2 separate regions of the Homo sapiens genome follow, and region 2 is linked to region 1. The links are contacts of gene promoters, found by promoter capture Hi-C in blood cells and fetal thymus (Javierre and others, 2016). All regions are on one chromosome and are shown on one strand. Each heading gives the region's core, a stretch centred on a gene start or on the middle of the fragment in contact. The rest is flanking DNA. Distances are from core to core; before and after follow the strand shown. Region 1 holds the start of FHAD1 (forkhead associated phosphopeptide binding domain 1). Region 2 overlaps TMEM51-AS1 (TMEM51 antisense RNA 1).

Region 1 (2,700 bases), core at 35-2,534:
AGATCCTCTTCCTATTGACTAGGTGTATTAGTCTGTTCTCACACTGCTATAAAGTAATTCCTTGAGACTGAATAATTTACAAAGAAAAGAAGTTTAATTGACTCACAGTTCTGCACTGCTAGGGAGGCCTCAGGAAACTTACAGTTATGGCGGAAGGCCAAGGGGAAGCAAGGAAGCTAGCATGTTGTAACATGGTGTAGCAGGAGAGAGAGAGAGCAAAGGGGGAAGTGCCACACTTTTAAACCATCAGATCTCATGAGAACTCACTCGCTATCATGAGAAAAGCAAGCGGGAAGTCTGCCCCCATGATTCAATCACCTCCCACCAGGCCCCTCTTCCAACACGTGGGGAGTGCAATTCGAGATGAAATTTGGGTGGGGACACACAGCCAAACCGTATCACTAGGGTAGAATGTGCCATAGTTCATCTCTCTTAGAAAAACGTTTAGAGTTTTTCTTGAGGTGTCTGGTCAGCCATTTCCTGCCAGTGAAAGGAATCACTCTCCAGGTAGAGTCAGCAGGAGATAGGATTTCCTGCTGGAGATAGTGGCGGGAGATAGGATTTGCACATCTGCTCAACACACTCCATCCCGCGAGTCCTGTGCCGGCTGACAAGCGGTTTCTTAAGGACAGTAACTGTTCCAGGTGTATTCTGGGATCAGCGTGTGACACTCATAGGACTCAAAAGATGTTTGCAGAGATAGAGAAAGGGCAAAAGAATGAATAAATGTCACTCTTAACAGGGAGGAGCAGAGGCAGCAGGATTGTGAGTTTGGAAATATTTTTTCCCCAGCACATGGAAGAAATCCTCATTCTTTCAAAATTTTTCATTCCACCCCATCCCTTTCCCAATCCCCACCCCACTCCCAGAGATCCCCTCTTCTTACTCTTTCTATTTTCTGGCCTGTAACGGAAAGGACTAGAGATTTGGGTAGGGCAGGGGGCATACTAACCTCCAAGGGTCTCATGAGTTCAGCTCCATCAATCTCCTACCTCTCCCTATCGCCCCCGACCCTCCCTCAACGCATCCAGCTTACAGTGAGGGGTAATGGAAAGGATTCTTGAATCAAATCTCCTCCCTGCTCCTTCCTCGCTGTAAAACCTTGGGCCATTTCTGTGACCTCTGAGCCTCCGCTTTCCTATCTGTGAAATGGGGCAGGCTCGTGGGGCCTGGAGCATTCAGCAGGCGGTAACCCAGTGGGCGTTCCCTGCACGGTGCCACGCCCCCTCTGCCGCGCAGGCCACGCCCTCATCTATTAGGCTGGACCCCGCGGCGCCTGGCGGCGTTGCCATGGCAACGCGCGTACACAGGCCGGCCGGGCGGGCGGGGTGCCGGGTGCGAGCTGGAGACTCCGCGGGAGCGCGGCCGGGAGGCTTCGCCCCGGAGCTGGCCCGACGCCTCCCGAGCTGGCAGGGCTCTCGGCGGAGGTCGGAGCGTGGGCTTCCTCCTCCCGCCAGGTGAGTGCGGCGCGGGAAGGGGTGGCGGGCCGAGACCGGGGACCGGAAGGGGCGGCCCAGCGAGGACTAGCCCTGGCAGGAGGAGGGGTGGCTCCCCGGCCCCATCCTCCTGGATCCAGGCTCCGGTCCCCAGGAGCACCCCAGTAGCTACCCCAACACCAGCCCCTCCTTTCCAGATGCAGGCCCCACCCCGCCCGCGGAGGAAGCCCCCGGGAGCCTTAGACCCTCCTTGGCACCAGCCATGCCACTCTGGGAAGTCCTGGGGGTTACAGCTGGGATTAGGAGGGGCATCCCTGCTGCCCCTGACTTACGAACGACACCCACCCGGCGGTCAGAGAGACTCCCCCCTTGCCTAACCTCTCCCTTCCCAAATACAACACTGAGGAATTTCTAGGGCTCCCAGGCCACTTAAGATCTGGTAACCCCTCAACAGAAATTTTGCTTCTCTATCTCACTTGTGACCTATAAGCAGGGAGTGCAGATGCCTGAAGCTCTTTTGCTCTTTTGCATGGTCGGTGCCCTGTGTCTTAGAACTAATTTACAGAGTTTAACGCATCTAATCACTTTCTACAGTGTTTTCAGGTAGGAAAGTGACTGCACAGGGCAAGATTAAAGTGGGGAAATAGGGCCCAACCCATTCAGCTAAAGAAATAGACTTTTTTTTTTTTTTCCAGAATGTCATCTAGGATAAATACTGAAGGGGAAAATGAAAGGTAGTTACTGTCAGAGGTTCTTAGGCTACCCTGACTTACTTTTAAGCATTGTTTTGTACTTTCATTCATTCATGATTTACTGAGCACCACTATGTGTCAGGCATGGCAGCGCTGGGGGCCAGAGGGGAGTAATGAACAGACTGTGAGGAAATGCAAAGGGTCTGAGATTTTTACACTACTTGCAAGCTAAGTTAGCCTGCCACTGCTTAATGATGCTAGCAGAAGACCAGAGACTCCAGGACCAGAGACAAAGGATGTTATTACTCACAGCACAGCAGGCACTGTGAGCTCATGTTTGCGTTGGTTCCCCTTGCCCTGCAAGTACCCCGGGGTGATGCAGGACAGCTCAGGTGGATGCTGTGCACACTGCGAGTCTGTTTCCCAGCTAAGGAACCCCAAGCTCAGGAAACTCCAGTCTTTTAAAAGGGGCTGCTAGCCAGTGCCCAACCTTTGCCCTGGAAGGAGATGACCTTTTTTTTTTTTTTTTAATTGAGACAGAGTCTTGCTCTGTCTCCCAAGCTAGATAGAGT
Region 2 (2,700 bases), core at 174-2,673, 120 kb before region 1:
CTTCAGGGAAGTCTCAGGATCCTGGCTGGACCAATCCAGCCCTGCAGCCCTGGCCCATGATGAAAGGCCCGGGAGTAGACTCCAAACCTGAGAGGTGAAAATCAGAACCCTTTCCGACAGGGCTCAGAATTGCAGGTGGCGGTGAGCTGCCGCTTTTTTTTGGATCTTAAGCTGTACGACGAGTCCCAGAGCTGCAGGCTGCCCCATCCCACCCACAAGGAGATGCCTAGAGAACGGGGCCCAGCCAGAGTCGGATGCCTAGATGCGGGAGGGGGGCAAGGACAACTGATCTATTCTCAGATCCAGTCGTCTCCAAGGCCACGTCCACCCCTGCTTTCTGAGGTTTGGTTGTGATGCACTAAGCACCACCACCCTACCATTCCCATTTCTCTGTGTCTTAGTTTGCTAGGGCTGCCATAATCAAGAGCCACAGGCCACGGTGCTTGCACAACAGACATGGACCCGCCTATGGTCCTGGAGGCTGGAAATCCAACCTCAGGGTGCCAGCAGGGTTGGCTTCTTCTGAGGCCCCTCTCCTTGGCTTGCAAACGGCCATATTCTCCTTGTGGTCCATCCACGGTTGCCTCTCTATGTATGTGTGTGCCCAAATCGCCTCTTCTTATAAGGCAGTAGTCATGTTGGATTAGGGCCCACCCATCTGACCTCATTTGAACTTAATTACCTCTTTAAAGATCTGATCTCCAAATACACCCTTAGGTACTCCACATCTGAATTTTGAGGATATGCAATTCAGCACGTAAGAGTCTCACACACTACCCCCATCACCAGCTAAAGACAACTAGAATTGGATTCCACATGCTTGACTGGAGAAGATTCCCAGGTAAATGACCTACTGTCCACTGGCCTTGACACTGAGGTGACTCCCACCCTTTCTCCCAGCAACTACATACCACACACATGCACACACACAACTCTCGCCTGCATTTTAAGGACTCTATCTGCATTACACAGAACAACTTGGAAGCATGAAAGAATCCTAAATTCTTCTGTTTTTTTAATTGACCCAGTCTTGCTGCTAGAGATGAGTAACAAGTGCCCCCATTTTTCCCGGAAAAAGACAAGGAGTTACTATTATTCTTTATTATTTTCTCTTCTTTTCTCCATTTCTCCCTGTTCTTCACTTCCTACTTAGCTCTTTAGAAATGCAGTTATAGCCTTTTACCTCCTCTTCCCCACACACTCCTTACAGGGCAAGTTCACCTAATCATGTGCTTAGAAGCTCCAAAGCAAAACTCTCACCCACCAGGAGGTTTCCTCGATAGATAACAGTTGATTGATGACCCAAAGTATGCCCATGAAGATGCCAACTCGAGTCCCAGTAAATAAGCCATCAAGGTAGCATGTGAAACCCCCCTGCTCACTTCCACCCCTGTGTAGGCCCCTTTTAAAAACACTCCCCTTCTGCTCCAAAGGCAAGGTGGAACCCTTAAGGCAGGAAGCCTGTACTTCTTTCCCTATGTTAGCTTTGGAATAAAAAGTCACTTTCTTTATACCAGACCTAGCTTGTTAATTAGACTCTGCAAGTGGCGAGGAACTGAATCTGCATTTTGGTTACAATGTCGTCCCCTTGAGCCTGTGAGAGTTGCAGAGTCAGAAGCCAGGCTGCTTTTGTGGGCAAGTTATGGCTCTGTGTCTCCTCACTGCCATGCCACCATCTGGACACCCCAGGACCATCGCCCCTCTTTTGGTTTCTTCACAGGGTTTCCACATGGCTCTTTTCTGGCCAGGTTCCTCTCCAGGACAACTCCGGTTCTAGCTCAGGATAGAGATCAACCCAGCGCCAAGAGGATGGAGCCAACACCACCCTGACAGCACAGAGCCCTGGTACACTTGCTGCAAGATGCTCTTCCAGGAGCCTCTCAGAGATAGATGGGCATGCAACTGGCATCCCCAAACAACTGGAGCAAGTCTTATCAAAGTTGCTTCCATCATTTATTCACTCAACAAACACTTGCTGGGTGTGTGTGCCTTATGCCAGCACTATGTGAAATAGATCTACTGACAAAACAGTCTCTGGCCTGAAATAATGCACACATACATATATATCATGTCAGCAGGTGCTGTGAAGAAAAGAAACACAAAGCAAGAGTGAAAGACTCCAGGAGACACGTGTTAGGTGGGCAGGTTCATTTGGTTTTGTGGTCACTTAACCCAACAAACTCCAGCATCGAGGTCACCAGAGGCTTCAGACTGGCTTGTTAAAAACGGCAACTTTGCCGACACCCTCTTGGTGACACAAGAGTGAAGGCCCTGGGGTGGAGTCCTCACTCACAGGAAAGCCAGTCCATGTCACTGACATCAGTCTCCAAACCCAAGCAGAAAGTTCCTCTATGGCTGGGTTCCCCAAGACCACCCTGACTATTCCAACCACATCCACAACCAGCTCTACTATTATTGGCATAATAGCTGCCTATTTTAAATCGGGCCAGACCTGACATCACTGCCTGTGTCTGTGTAACCACAGGCCTAAGACGCTGGCTCTGTTTTCTAATACATAGATGTGGGTACGGATATGTGTGCCTCTATGTGCCAAGTATGCACATAAATATACAAATAAATATTCCTGCAAATGCTCACCTGCATGTCCCCCAAATCAGGTCACACTCCATGAGGGACATAAGTGCCACAGTTGGGAACCACTGCTTTATGGCACCCAACAGATTCCTCATGCAGCATCGG

The links. The method cuts DNA at HindIII sites, captures the fragments that hold promoters and counts their contacts. A CHiCAGO score of 5 or more calls a contact.
Region 2: a fragment that was not itself captured here is called in contact with the fragment with the promoter of FHAD1 in region 1 in 7 of 17 cell types (M1 macrophages, M2 macrophages, megakaryocytes and 4 more); the score reaches 8.5 in M1 macrophages.

Annotation. Positions count from the first base shown.
Region 1 is chr1:15,245,939-15,248,638 of GRCh38, forward strand. It overlaps FHAD1 (forkhead associated phosphopeptide binding domain 1), which reads left to right and starts at 1,285. Exons shown (of 34, transcript NM_001391957.1): 1 at 1,285-1,457. RefSeq lists silencers at 1,120-1,293, 1,311-1,550. The HindIII fragment of the contact is 5,643 bases long and covers 1-2,700 here.
Region 2 is chr1:15,124,730-15,127,429 of GRCh38, forward strand. All of the region lies in intron 1 of TMEM51-AS1 (TMEM51 antisense RNA 1), which reads right to left. Among named protein-coding and RNA genes, the nearest start is that of TMEM51-AS1, 26 kb to the right of the region's middle. The HindIII fragment of the contact is 8,431 bases long and covers 1-2,700 here.